Regions from separate parts of the Homo sapiens genome. Here all the other regions are linked to region 2. Evidence: promoter capture Hi-C in 16 types of primary human blood cells and fetal thymus (Javierre and others, 2016). All regions are on one chromosome and are shown on one strand. Each heading gives the region's core, a stretch centred on a gene start or on the middle of the fragment in contact. The rest is flanking DNA. Distances are from core to core; before and after follow the strand shown. Region 1 overlaps COL23A1 (collagen type XXIII alpha 1 chain). Region 2 holds the start of COL23A1 (collagen type XXIII alpha 1 chain). Region 3 overlaps PHYKPL (5-phosphohydroxy-L-lysine phospho-lyase). Region 4 overlaps COL23A1 (collagen type XXIII alpha 1 chain). Region 5 holds the start of ZNF454 (zinc finger protein 454).

Evidence for each region. Contacts are between HindIII fragments. The CHiCAGO score rates a contact against its expected background, and 5 or more counts as called.
Region 1: a contact is called between a fragment that was not itself captured here and the fragment with the promoter of COL23A1 in region 2, in 10 of 17 cell types (M0 macrophages, M1 macrophages, M2 macrophages and 7 more). The highest score is 22.2, in M0 macrophages.
Region 3: a fragment that was not itself captured here is called in contact with the fragment with the promoter of COL23A1 in region 2 in 1 of 17 cell types (M0 macrophages); the score reaches 5.2 in M0 macrophages.
Region 4: a contact is called between a fragment that was not itself captured here and the fragment with the promoter of COL23A1 in region 2, in 15 of 17 cell types (M2 macrophages, M0 macrophages, erythroblasts and 12 more). The highest score is 79.5, in M2 macrophages.
Region 5: a contact is called between the fragment with the promoter of ZNF454 here and the fragment with the promoter of COL23A1 in region 2, in 4 of 17 cell types (monocytes, endothelial precursors, erythroblasts and 1 more). The highest score is 5.8, in monocytes.

The regions. Positions count from the first base shown.
Region 1 is chr5:178,260,204-178,262,903 of GRCh38, reverse strand. It overlaps COL23A1 (collagen type XXIII alpha 1 chain), which reads left to right. Exons shown (of 29, transcript NM_173465.4): 10 at 652-687; 11 at 1,156-1,182. Among named protein-coding and RNA genes, the nearest start is that of PHYKPL, 29 kb to the right of the region's middle. The HindIII fragment of the contact is 4,641 bases long and covers 1-2,700 here.
Region 2 is chr5:178,588,951-178,591,650 of GRCh38, reverse strand. It overlaps COL23A1 (collagen type XXIII alpha 1 chain), which reads left to right and starts at 1,258. Exons shown (of 29, transcript NM_173465.4): 1 at 1,258-1,747. The coding sequence starts at 1,454. RefSeq lists a silencer at 1,057-1,256 and an enhancer at 1,912-2,700. The HindIII fragment of the contact is 4,652 bases long and covers 1-2,700 here.
Region 3 is chr5:178,214,737-178,217,436 of GRCh38, reverse strand. It overlaps PHYKPL (5-phosphohydroxy-L-lysine phospho-lyase), which reads left to right. Exons shown (of 13, transcript NM_153373.4): 9 at 2,007-2,161; 10 at 2,552-2,641. Among named protein-coding and RNA genes, the nearest start is that of HNRNPAB, 12 kb to the right of the region's middle. The HindIII fragment of the contact is 9,930 bases long and covers 1-2,700 here.
Region 4 is chr5:178,286,849-178,289,548 of GRCh38, reverse strand. COL23A1 (collagen type XXIII alpha 1 chain) reads left to right here. Exons shown (of 29, transcript NM_173465.4): 5 at 1,199-1,225. Among named protein-coding and RNA genes, the nearest start is that of PHYKPL, 55 kb to the right of the region's middle. RefSeq lists enhancers at 1,823-2,367, 2,368-2,700. The HindIII fragment of the contact is 9,200 bases long and covers 1-2,700 here.
Region 5 is chr5:178,939,768-178,942,475 of GRCh38, reverse strand. ZNF454 (zinc finger protein 454) reads right to left here and starts at 1,278. Exons shown (of 5, transcript NM_001178089.3): 1 at 1,032-1,278. ZNF454-DT (ZNF454 divergent transcript) reads left to right here and starts at 1,461. Exons shown (of 1, transcript NR_186409.1): 1 at 1,461-2,708. The HindIII fragment of the contact is 10,957 bases long and covers 1-2,708 here.

The DNA.
Region 1 (2,700 bases), core at 16-2,515, 330 kb after region 2:
CATTCCCAAATCCTGGTCTACGCCCCCAATTCAGACCCTAACTCTGAACCTTACAGACTCTGACCCTGACTCCCAACCCAACTCTAACTTCAAACAGACCCAGAGACCCTAAGCTGACCTTAGTTGCAATCCCAGTCCCAATCCTGACTCAACCCTGAGCCTGAGACCCTTCTGGGGACACTGTCTCTGCAGACCTTTATCAGCCCCTCCCCTCATGCTCCCCAATAGTATCTCAGCCTCAGCTTTCCTCCCAGGGTCTCCAAAGTCTAGAGGCCAGGCCCCATCCTACTACCCCTTTCCCTAACCCAGAATCCCCAGCCTGTCCTTCCCTTCATTGTGGAGCCCATGCCACCACCAGACTGCCACCAGGGTCCCCCCCCAGTCAAATGGATCCCCACCAAACTGCTGCCAGATTCCCCCAGGACAGCTGCTCAGTTGGCTCATCCATTACTTGTCACACCGGGCCAGTGGCTTCCCCAGCCTAACATTCTCATCTGTGGAGTGGGGACAGTGATACTCGCTCTTCAGGTTTGGCGAGAATGAGATAAGATAATGTACTTAGAGCCCCAGCCCGGGGTCTGGCCTGAGATTTGGGCTCAGTTCAATGTGACATCCTGCATCCTTCACTGCTGTCCCCTCACACTTCCGCAGGGCCCCAAAGGAGAGCCCGGACAAGACGGCGAGATGGTCAGTATCCAGGGCATTCCAGAGGCCTGGGCTGCTAGGATCATGGTTCCCAGACCTGGAAGCCCCTTTCCCACACACGCCGACAGCAGGGTCACGCGCACATGTTTATGTGTGTGCGCGCGCCTCTGCATGTACGTGTCTGCATGTGTGTGGACCCCTGTGCACCTGCCCCTCCAGCCACCCTGGGGAAATGGCTGGGTGAGGCACCAGCCAGGGGGATTCCAGTAGCTCCACATTCCTGTGCGGAGGCTGCGGTCCACTTGCCACCACCTGAGCCCTAATGCAGAAGCTGTCCCAGGCTTGAGGAGTCAGGCCCAGGGTGGGCAGCTCCAGCCTGCTTCTGACGGCAGCCCAGCCTCCTGCTCTCTGGGATTGGTGTCACCTTTTACAAAGCCAGGATGCTAAGAAGGACAGGCCCAGGAGCAGCCTCCAGTATGACATTTAACACCTTCTCTTCTCTTGTTCCAGGGCCCAAAGGGACCCCCAGGGCCCAAGGTGAGTACTCCTTATTCCCCATGCCCCTCCCCAGATCTGGTGGGATGGACTCCCCCACCACCACCTCCACTTCCTGTCTCTTCCCCCCACCCCTAGTGAAGCCAAGGCAGCAGGGTCAGGAGATCAAATTCCTGGACCATGGGCAAGTTACTGCATCTCTCTGGGCCTCAGTTTAGTCATCTGTTAAATGGAGGCACAGTAAACCTTTCCTGCCTTTTTCACACTGAGTTGCGAGGGTTGAATCATAAAACACATTAGCCTTTTGGTTTCAAATAGATTTTCCTTTTTTTTTTTAATTTTCTATTCTTTTGAGGCAGAGTCTCACTGTCGCCTAGGCTGGAATGCAGTGGCACGATCACAGCTCACTGCAGCCTCCACCTCCTGGGTTCAAACAATTCTCCTGCCTCAGCCTCCTGAGTAGCTGGGACAACAGGTGTGTGCCACCATGCCCAGCTAATTTTTTGTATTTTTAGGAGAAATGGGGTTTCACCATGTTGGCCAGGCTAGTCTCGAACTCCTGACCTCAGGTTATCCTCCCACCTCAGCCTCCCAAAGTGCTGGGATTACAGGTGTAAGCCACTGTACCTGGCCCAAATAGATTTTATTTTTAGAACAGTTTTTGTTTCACAACAAAACTAAACAGAAAGTACAGAATTTCCATATCCCCCTCCCCCGCTGTGGACATCCCCCACTTGCTACAGATGACCCACCTGTGTGGACAGACCACCATCACCCAGATGCCGTCGTTTACATTAGGGTTCACTCTTGCTGTGGTACACTCTGGATTCGGACAAGTGTGTGTTGACAAGTATCCACCACTGTGGTGTCATGGAGTATTTACCCTGCCCTAAACATGCTCTGTTCTCCGCCTGTTCATCCCTCGTTCTCCCTAGCCCCTGACACCACTGATCTTTTATCTTTTTTTTTGAGATGGAGTCTTGCTCTTGTCGCCCAGGCTGGAGTGCAATGGCACAATCTCAGCCCACTGCAACCTCTGCCTCCTGGTTTCAAGTGATTCTTCTGCTTCAGCCTCTCAAGTACCTGGGATTACAGGCGTGCGCCACCACACCTGGCTAATTTTGTATTTTTAGTAGAGATGGGGTTTCACCATGTTGGTCAGGCTGGCCTCGAACTTCTGACCTCAGGTGATCCACCCACCTCAGCCTCCCAAAGTGCTAGGATTACAGGCATGAGCCACCGTGCCCGGCCACCACTGATCTCTTTTCACTGTCTCCATAGTTTTGCCTTTCCCAGAGTGTCATCTAGTTGGAATCAGACAGTGTGTGGCCTTTTCAGATTGGCTCCTTTCACTTAGTAATACACATTGACCTTTCATCCATGTCTTTTCATGGCTTGACAGCTCATTCCTTTCTAGCACTGAATGATAGTCCATGTCTGGGTTTATTATTTATTGAATGATAAGCCACAGTTTATTTACCCACTCACCGACTGAAGGACATGTTGGCTGCTTCCAGGTTTTGGCAGTTTTGAGTAAAGCTGATGTCAGCGTCCATGTGC
Region 2 (2,700 bases), core at 9-2,508:
CTCTTTTCAGAATGAGGCCAACTTTTCATTCTATTGGGCATACACCAGACTTTAGCACAGAGCCAAGTCTATCAACCATAACCCCCGGCCATCTCAGGGGTTCCCCTCTGAATTAAGGGAAGGAGATGGAACATGTTAGCCAGAGGCACTCAACAGTTCTAAAAGGTGAGTATCCACAGAAATGAGACAACCAGAAGATATCCAGAGTGAGAGGGAAGATGGATATAACGTTATTTTTCTTAAAAAAAAATGGTTGGGGGGTTACTCAAATCACAAAGATCTGAACTGCTGGTTTGTTGTTTCATTTAGGTATTACAGGAGTTAGCGAAAGAGTTACTTGGGACCCATTTAGGACATGAATATGCCTGGTAGGAATCTGAACCCAGCCTGACTTCCAGCAGTTCTTCCCTTTCCTGCCAAGACTTGTTAGTGCCACTCATTCTGTTCTCTGGACCCAGGCTGTACGCCACAGCCTTCTTGCCTCAGCCCTGTGATTTAAATTTGCAGCAGAATCGCAGTACAGGTTAAGTGTGGTGCATACTAGATCATAATTTTTGGCCAAGTTGTGCGTCTAATACAGAATTAAGTCATCAGTTGAACAAGACTTGAAGTTCATTTTCTGAATCTTTCCCATTCGTTATAGTCTCAGTTTTCTCAAAAGCCCTCTCCAGGCCAGAAACAGTCTTACCATTTTTGTTTCCCGCACCGAAGTCCGGCAGCTAAGAACTCGTGAGAAGATTCTAAGGGGCGTATTTCTGTTTGGCGCAATCTCGACCCTGCCTCTCTAAATGTGAGTGCGCAGAGGTCGCTTTCCGCCACGAAGCGGCGCTAATCCACCACCGAGGACAGACCCACTCAGTTTTTTGCAGGATTTGAAGTTTTGAACTTTTACAAGTGTCAGAAAGGTAATTCACAAGTTTAGAGGAATGTGCTAAGGCACGAGTGGTGGGTGCTCCAGCCAGGGGTGGGCTGCAGAAGGGGCGCGGTGTCGCCGGGCTCCCCTCCGACCTCTGGGGTCCACAGTGCGGGCTTGGGCTGGGGAAGCCTCAGAGGTGCGTGCGGGGGCGGGTGCCGGCGCCCGGGCTAGGTGAGGGCAGAGGTGCGCGCTGCGCGTGGGATCAGCCCGGCGCCGACGGGTGGCTCCGAGGAGCTCGCTCCTTCCTCGCCCCCGCCCCCTCGCCGCGCGGGGCCAGCCCGGCCGCTCCTCCCCTGGGTGGGTCCCTGCTCCTTTTCTGGCAGGGTCTATTTGCATAGAGGAAACTGCCCAAAGTGGCCGCTGTGGAGGAGCTGGCTGCGGCGAAGGGGGCGTGCGCGGCGATCCGCTGCTACCCGGAGGCTAACCCCCGCGCCCGGCGGACCTCGTGCCTCGGGCTGTCCCGCCTGCTCCTCTCGCACCCAGCCTCTGCCCCAGCAGCACCGCCCCCTCGGAGAGTCCACGCGCGACGAACGCGCCATGGGCCCAGGCGAGCGCGCCGGTGGCGGCGGCGACGCGGGGAAGGGCAATGCGGCGGGCGGCGGCGGCGGAGGGCGCTCGGCGACGACGGCCGGGTCCCGGGCGGTGAGCGCGCTGTGCCTGCTGCTCTCCGTGGGCTCGGCGGCTGCCTGCCTGCTGCTGGGTGTCCAGGCGGCCGCGCTGCAGGGCCGGGTGGCGGCGCTCGAGGAGGAGCGGGAGCTGCTGCGGCGCGCGGGGCCGCCAGGCGCCCTGGACGCCTGGGCCGAGCCGCACCTGGAGCGCCTGCTGCGGGAGGTGAGCGTCTTGGCGCGTGGCTGGGGCGGACTTGGGTGTGTCGGGTTGAGGGTGGCGGTACGCTGGGAGCCGGGGGCAGCGTGCAGGTCTCTGGGAGGAGGGTCGCCCGCCGGCTGCGTGCGCTCGGGGCCGTCCCAGAGATGGGCACGTCTGCGCCAAGGCGGAGGCAGGGGGTGCCGGCCCCAAGGGGTTTTGCGGTCTCCGCTCCGGCCTCAGGGTCCCGTGCCAGGCAGGCGGCCGCGAGAAAGGGGAAGGAGAGACCAGGGACTTTGGAGTAACAGACCTAGGGTCAGTCTCCACGGGGTGTGCGCTCGGACACGCCGCTTCCCGCCGGCGGCCAGAGTCGGGGATAAAGATGAGGCTCGTGGGAAGTATCTGGTGACTGTGACCAGTAGCACCTACTGTTCCTAACCAACGCTGGTACACCTGGAGAGGCGGTGGTCACGGCGGAGGAAAGCCTCAGACAGGCCCGAGGGCTGGGCCCCGCTGTGCTCCAGTGTGTCTCCAGCAGCTCAGGCCCCAAGACTGAGCGGTCACCGTCGCACTGAGGCCTCGGGGATGGGGGTGGGGGCGCCCACATGACTTGGTAAGATGAGAGGAAGGAGAAACAATCGGGGGTGGAGGACCTGGATTCTGGTTTCAGGCGGTGCCATCTGGGGTGTGGGCTCGCAGGACATCCGGAGTTTCCCGTCCCTTACCTGGGAATCGCGACTTCCACAGCTTACTTGAAAGCTCATATGAGGCTCTGTGACACTTCTAAGGGTTAAGATTGCTGCTGTGTGTCTTCAAAGAAAGAGCCACCTTTGGGTCCTCCAAGCCCTCACCCAGCATGTTGGTCAAAGCCTCCGCCTTTTGTGTGCGGCATGTGCGGCAGTTCCCCTCCCCACGAAACTGGACAGGCCCTGGTGGGCTGGCCAGAGCCTCCCCTGCCGAGCCTTCCTCCTTCTCCTGGG
Region 3 (2,700 bases), core at 90-2,589, 370 kb after region 2:
CCAGCCTGGCCAACACAGTGAAACTCCGTCTCTACTAAAAATACAAAAATTAGCCAGATGTGGTGGCATGCACCTATAGTCCCAGCTAGTTGGGAGGCTGAAGCACCAGAATCGCCTGAACCTGGGAGGCGGCAGCTGCAGTTTGCTGAGATCGCACCACTGCACTCCATCCTGGGTGACAGCGAGACTGTCTCAAAAAAAAAAAAAAAATCTGTTGAGCCTCTCTAGTAAATGCTTCATTTCATTTATTGTGCTTATCAACTTCAAATTTTCTGATTGATTTTTAATAATTTATCTATCATTAGACTCTGTTTTGGTAAGACATCATTTTCATGCTTTGCTTTCAATTTTTTAAGTATAGTTTCCTTTAGGTCTCTTAACATATTTGGTTTTGGGGTTGTTTCTGTTTGCTTGTTTGGATACAGGGTCTCACTCTGTTGCCCAGGCTGGAGTCTTGGCTCACTGCAGCTTCAGCCTCTGGAGCTCAAGTGATCCTCCTGCCTCACCCCGCAAGCAGCTGGGAGTACACACATGTGCCACCACGCCTGGCTATTTTTATTTTTTGTAGAGATGGGGTTTCACCATGCTGCCCAGGCTGGTCTCGAACTCCTCACCTTAGGCAACTCACCCATCTTGGCCTCCCAAAGTGCTGGGATTACAGGCATGGGCCACTGCACCCAGCTAACATGTTTGTAACATCTGATTTAAAGTCTTTATCCAGTAAGGTCAGTGTCAGCTTCCTCGGGCGCAGTTTGCATTGATTGCTTTTTTTCCTCCCGTGTCTGGGCCATGCTTCTTTGCATGTTTCAGAATTTTGTTAAAAGCTGGACATTTTAAGTAACATAATGTGGCAACTGTGGAAATCATATTCTCCTCCCTCCCCATGGTGGTTCCTTTTTCTTGTTTAATGTCTTTTCTGAACTAATTATGTAAAGTTGTGTTCTTTGTCATGTGTGGCCACTATAGTCTCTGCTTGATTAGCTTAGTGGTCCTCTAACCATTAGATCTCCTTAATTGCCTGGAACCCGTAAGTCACTCAGCCAAGAGTTTATAACTGCCTTAGACTTTACTTCCTCATTCTGCAGAGGCTCAAGGTAGCCAGTGGTGAGAGCTTAGGGCTTTCTAGATCTTACCTGAGCATGCACACAGCACTGGGCATAAGCACATCCCTATGCATATGAATGGCCTTCTAGACTCCCAGGAGTACGTCACAGCCTTTCAAAGCCCCCTGTAGCCATCTCATAGTAACAGAAAGCAGATCAGTGGATGCCTGGGTCCAGTAGTAGCGGGACGGTTGCACAGGAAGTGATGAAAATGTTCTGCAACTTCACTGCGAGGGAGGTTACACAGGTACATACATTTGTCACCTCACGTTGAACTTTATACTTTAAACACAGTTTATATATAAATTATACCTCAACAAAGCTGATGTTTTTAAAGATGTAGTTTAAAAACGAAACAAAAAACGTGGTTTGCAGGAGACACCTTGCTCGTGATCCTCTAAAACACAGGTCTCCACTCAGATACCTGCAGGATGAGGACAGGGTGGGCGAGGGAAAGGAGCCAGAGCCCTCCAGGGGTGTGAAGCAGCTTTTCCTGGGTGGGGCTTGGCGTGCTGCGCTCACTCTCCCTGGAGGAGGAAGTGCCTAATCCAGTCCTCTGGGTCTGGGCCCAGGAGATGGGGCCTTAAAGCCTCTCTTGGTAAAGACTAGCCCTGTGGGAACAAACAGGACACCCTCTCCTCTGATTCTGTATCTTCTAGGGGCTCCTACTGTACTTCAGGGATACCTGACCTGAGTTGCAGTCACATTAGCTCCTGGAAAGCCAGGACAGCCCATGTTGAACCCCACTTACTACTGCTGAGGACTGTGCGCCCTAAGGGGTTTGGGGCCTCTGCTCTTGCCACTGGCCTTGGAACACGTGTGGCAGTTCTTCTGCCTCACCCTCACTCTGGGGCATGGCCCACTCTGCCAGGGCATCTGACATGTTCTTTGTCCCTGGCTCAGTTTGGGGGCAGCCCAGTGTCCTGCGCTGTGGGGCTGGCCGTCCTGAATGTCTTGGAGAAGGAGCAGCTCCAGGATCATGCCACCAGTGTAGGCAGCTTCCTGATGCAGCTCCTCGGGCAGCAAAAAATCAAACATCCCATCGTCGGGGATGTCAGGTGAGGCTCTGGGGGCAGCAGTCACCACCCACCTGCCAAGGCCCAGTGTGGTACCATTTTCTTCACCTCCTAACAACCTGGGATGGTGGGGTTATGTCCGCTCTCAAGAGGAACTGAGACACTGAGAGGTGCTATTGCCCAAAACGGCTCTCCTGGGGAGGAGAAAGCTAGGACATGACCTGATCCCTAGCTACCCCTGAGCCTCTCTCCTCTGTCCACACCAAAGATCTCTCCCAGCCCAGTTATTCCCTGAAACTATTCTCACCACCTTCTGAAGGTGCCTCCTGCACTCAGCCCCCTCAGGAGGCACAGGTAGGAGCCCAGAGGCTGAGGCCAGCACCCTGGCCCCTCAGGCCTGGCCTCCTGAGATGTCGTCACCTTCCCTTGCAGGGGTGTTGGGCTCTTCATTGGTGTGGATCTGATCAAAGATGAGGCCACAAGGACACCAGCAACTGAAGAGGCTGCCTACTTGGTATCAAGGTATTTTCTTCTTGAAACAAGTTGCTTCCTGGAGTAGGAGACACCACAGGTACCTCTTT
Region 4 (2,700 bases), core at 69-2,568, 300 kb after region 2:
TGAGACCTTGTGAGCACACCTGGCTGGTGAGGGCATGGCACTGGAGCAGGAGGAAAATGTCACTGCATTTGTGAGGGGTGTGAAGGGTATGAGGGAAGCACTGGGCAGCTCCCTTGAACTTCTCCTGGCCGGCCAGAGGCAGGTTTGAATGCAGGGGATTGCAAGTGGTCCTAGAAATCCCATTCATTCTCCAGGGCAAAGGATGTGCCTGCCTTTGATTCATGCTGTCAGTTTTTCAGAGCCCGGTAAATCCCAGTTAATCCACTCAAGAAGCACATTGACAGTCAGAGCCAAAATCAGCCTTCTCAAGGAATTCCTTTCAGATGAGCCCTTTTATTTTTTACTTCCGTGTACCATGATTGGTTTCCCGATCAGTGCCCTTCGGAATCTGGGCTTCTCGGTGCATGCAGCCCCACCGTGAGCCAAGCAAGACAGCAGGATTGTGTTGATTTATTGGCTTCAAGCGATGTTTGGCAGCTGAGTTCTTCCTGGCTGTCTCAGGGAGGCTAGCGTGTGTGAACTTGCTGAAGTACCTAACGCCGGGGGCTATAGAGTGTTTTTTTTGTTTCTTTTTTAACTTGGCAGTTAAAATAGTAAATGAATTAAACAAATGCAGAAATTCTCAAGCTGCAACCTGGAAGGGTCTGACCTGGGAGATGGGTGCCCAAGTGTGGAACACAGGCAGGGTGGTCACTGCTCCAGGGTCTGGAACTAGGGGGCAGAGAAGCATGCAGCCACAGTGAACGCCCCCCGATATTCCTGGCTTCTAAGGCTCTCTTTCTTGGTTCACCCCATCCCAGTGGCAACTGAGAGGAAACAGGCTCTCTTCCAGGCCTAGTTTAAGGAGCATTTTCAGTTCCTGGTTGGTCGTGTGGTTGTGGCTGCACCCTCCAGAACCCCACGTCCCCACGTGGCATTTACCCTATGCCTGGCCAGCGTGGGGAGGGCACACATGTGACTGTGCCCGGAGCCCCGATGAAGCCCTGAGGCTCTTGGTCCCTCCAGCCTGGCCCTCTGAGGCAGGAAAGGGCTGCTCTGCCCCCAAGACCCCTGGAGCCCTTGAGTCCTCCCGCTGCAGAGGAAGTCACCAACCAGCTGTCGGGGGGCGGGTGTGGGTCTGGGCCCTGATTGAGCTCTAAGTGTTGCCATATGGTTTCTGCCGAAACTCTGATTATTAATGACATATTAATTACCACAGGGGCAATCAGGACGAGATGGCTACCCGGTAATTTGTCATTTATTTTTTTGCTCTCTTCACCCTTTTCTCTTAAACCAATATTCTTTCCCTGAGCCTTGATTTAACTCTGTCTGCGCTCCTGTCTCTTCTGCTCCTCAGCAGCCGTGGTCTTTCTGTGGAGGCGATTAGCGTGAGCTCTGGGGAGGTAAAGGCTGCACAGATCTCCAGGGCTGCCCTGGAGGCAAGGCAGAGCACCTCGAGCAGGTGTCTGGGTGGCACTGAATCCACCTGCCACTGCTTCTTCAGTAAGTCCAGCCAAGAGCCAACAGTCCAGCCCCCGCACTGTGGCGTGCTCCACTGGAGGGCTGGGCCTCTTCCCAGTGGGCAGAGGACTCCCTGTCCCAGCCACCGCTCCTCGTCATCACTCGATAACAGGAGACTGGCTGGTTCCAGTTTGGCTGTGGTGTCATCCCTTGGCAGATCTCTTAAAATTAACCCAAAAGCTAGCGCATTCCTGGGATAGATGTCCTAGCCCCGGCCAAGTGAGCACCACGTCAGCAGCAAGACGCAGCGTGGCTGTGCCGCTGTCAGGTCCTGTGCGGGGGTTGAGGGTCGTGGCAGCAGCATCCGGAGGTCCTGGGATGTCAGAAAGAGTAGGGGGAGCCCAGCAGCAGAAGAGATTGGCAGGGCCGTCAGGGGAGGGGCAGATTCATTTTGTGCCTCCAGGGCAGGAAGATGCAGGGAGGGAAATGCTGGCTGATTCGGGACAGATCTGTGCAGTCAGGACGGCTGGTGATAGAGAGCGGTGGTCCCCGGTCCTGCAGCGGAGGAGAGGAGGCCAGCCCCAGCACCAGGGAGACTTGACGTGGGGTCCACTCTGCTTCCTCTCGGCTGAGTGACCTTAAGAGAAGGTGCTCACCTTCGCTGAGCTTCAATTTCCTGCTCTGTGAATGCAGAGATGAAGGCACATGATGTGTCACAAACCCAGCCCTCCAGGACTTGGTGGTAACTCTGGGGAACATTGACTTCATGCTGGAGTGGCCCCGTGCTGGGCTGAGTCAAGTTTGGGATCTCCCAGGCAGTCCGGGCAGCTCCCCCAGCAATGAGCAGCCTGGCCTCTCAGACTCTGCGGAAGTAAGAATGAAATGTGAAAACCAGCTGGGACCCACCCTCATCCCATGGCACACCTGGGGTTAGGGCCCTGCCGCAGTCCCCAGCTGCTCTTCTGATTAGGCAAGGGTCAGGCTCCCGTCTCCTGCACACGGCAGCCCGGACCTTTGGGCGTCCAGCATCTTGGGGAAGCACAGGCTTTCGCTGGAAAGTTCAGCCCCGCATCTTGGCATTATTCGCTGTACCAGTACCGGCTCGGGAGGACCGGAGACTAACAGAACCACTCCTGGCATGACGCAGTTCCCTTCACCCCGGGTTACTCTGTATTCACAGGTCCAGAGGGGAGAGGGTGGGGTGTAGATGAGTGGTTTCCTCCCCCTCTTCTCCATTGTTTCCTCTGAGCAAAGTGACCC
Region 5 (2,708 bases), core at 29-2,528, 350 kb before region 2:
CCACCCTCTGGTCTTTCCCTTCAGCCTCACTGAGCGATCTCAAGAGAATTCTTTTTTTGTTTGTTTGTTTGAGACAGAGTCTCGCTCTGTCACCTAGGCTGGAGTGCAGTGGCACGATCTTGGCTCACTGCAACCTCCGCCTTCCGGGTTCAAGCGATTCTCCCGCCCCAGTCTCCGGAGTAGCTGGGATTACACGCACCCGCCACCACGCCCGGCTAATTTTTTATATTTTTAGTAGAGACCGGGATTTCACCATGTTGGTCGGACTGGTCTCGAACTCCGGACCTCAGGTGATCGGCTCGCCTCGGCCTCCCAAAGTACTGGGATTACAGGCGTGAGCCGCCGCACTCGGCCGAGAATTATCTCTTTAACAAGTTATTCAGCTCCAGAACCCACCAGGATGTACCCGAAAAGGTGGGAGCGCTGGGGAGAGGCAACGGAGGGCAGTGTCTGGGTTCGACTGGATTGGAAGACCGCTCCGCTCTCCCTCTGCGGCTTTGGAACAGCTGCCTTATCTGGCAGTGACAGGAGAAGAGGAAAAGGAGGGTGGTCTTCTTCCTCCTCAGAAAGGAGGCTAAGAAGGCTCTTCACTGTCGAAGCCTCTCAGGCAAACCCTTCTCTGGCCTCAGTGTTCTCACTCTCTGGGGCCCAGTCTGGGTGGCCTGGAGTCACGGGTGGGCAGAAGCGGCGTTTGTGTGAGCTGGGCGGGAGGGGAGAGGGAAGGGTTAGGAACCCTAATCACACACAGCCCCGTCCCGCCCCTGCCGCTTCGCCAGGTCCCTCGGGGGCTGTGGCAGGGGCTGCGCAGCGGCTGCCTCCGGCCTTGGCGAGTTCCTGGCGCAGGACTCGGAACCACGCCAGGCGTGTATCTATCACCTGAGAGGAAACCCTGGGCTTCTCGGAGTCCGCTCCAAGACACATGCCAGAGGCCCTGGCTCCATCTCCTCCACAGGCACTCACAGACTCGACCCTCAGCCCAGGATGACCACCCCTGGCCGTCCTCCCTCTCTGGGATCAAATCTCAGACATACATTCCGGGAAGTTTGGGGCATTCGATCAGCGTCCTCCAGAATGGACCACAACCCGCACCTCCTCGGCTTTGCCTCCGCCCTTCTCCCCAGACGACCTCACGACCGCTCCCGCTCTCCCTCTGCGGCTTTGACCACCGTGCCTGGTCAGCCCCGTGTCGCTCTTCGAGGAGCCTCTGCCGGCGGCGAGAGATCGCAAGCGCCACATCGCAGTCAGAACACAATGAGCTGGAGTCTGCAGCCGGGAGCCGAACTGCGCTTGCGCGTTGCCCTGGGAACCCTTGGGCCGAATTCCCACAAGTCTCAGGGCTGCTGCAGTTCCGCCGGCCAGACTCCACTTCCCAGAGGGACAATCGGCGGAGACAGTGCTGCCTTGCGCCTGCGGGAACAGGGCCCGGCCCCGGCGCTTTAGGCGCGGAAACTACCTTTCCCAGAGACCCCTCCACGCCGACCTCAGCGCGCTCATTGCAACTTACAGAATCGGTTCCGTTCCGTTCGCTTTAGAACCAGGTCTCTGCCTTGCACTAAGGCGCAGGAAGATGCAGATCAGCGAAAAGCTGAAGATGGGGCAAGGGAGGTTAGTCCAGGGGAGCGACGCCCGATCGCTGACGAGAGAGGATCGGGAGGGTCCGGAAGACGGAGTGGGAGGCGACAGGGCGCGTTCCTGACTGGGACCGCGCCGAAAAGGCCTGGAAGGCAACAGAATTGCCCCTTGGCCTGGCAAGCGCCCGACACTTCCAGCCTGGCACTGCGGGCGGGCCAGCGTGTGCTGGGGTGGCGACGCCACAGCCACTAACGCGTGTGCGGTGCGGGAGGACAAGGATGTCGGGCAGGGATGTCCTGCTTGGCACCTCAGGACAGAGCCCATGGTGGCTGGCGGCCCCTGGAATGTTCGGGACGCAGAACACTTCGTGCTTGGGAACTTCTCAGAGGTGGGGACGAGGGAGAGGAAGGCGCCTGGATGCCAGGAAGTCTCCATCTTGGACAGCTGGGTGGTATTTAAGAAGGTGGTATTTATTTTTGTCGACCATATTTTGCAGAGACTGGCAAGGATGAGATGATGCCTAAGAATATCCAACTGGAGATACTTAGTTGCTTTTGAATAGGTAATTTGCATGGAGCTCAGGAAGGAAAGATGAGAGGGTTTTAACTTTGTTGGTCGTTAAAAAAAATCAAGAATGTGACCTGTTTGTCACATACGGAATTGTTGGCCACGTTTTAGGAAGCAGTGTCAGTGACTACAGCATTCTGTTTGGAGTTTTATTGAAGATTTCATTCCATAGACACTTTGGAGCACTTATGTGTCAAGTGCTTGACAAGGCCAGGGTCAGCCGCTGTGCAGCCCCTGTAGCAGTTCCCAGGGACCCGGCAAAGCACCAGAGGGGGAGGATGTTGTGTGAGTATCGCTGGTAACCCTTCTCTCTCGCCTCCCTCGTGACTCCAGGTCACTCAAACTGGGCTCCAGAGAGTAAGAACCCCGAGTCCAGGGGCTGGAGAAATAGCTGTGAAAACCCTGCACTCATGGAGTTTTAATTGTACTAGAGGAGGGGTCAGACAAGTAGAAAGTATTTATCTGGTAGTGATAACACTACTGTTAGGGGTTAGGGTGTGATGGGGCGGGGAATTATTTCAAGCAGCAGTTTTGGAAGTTCTCTTTGAGGAGGTAACACCTGAGCAGAG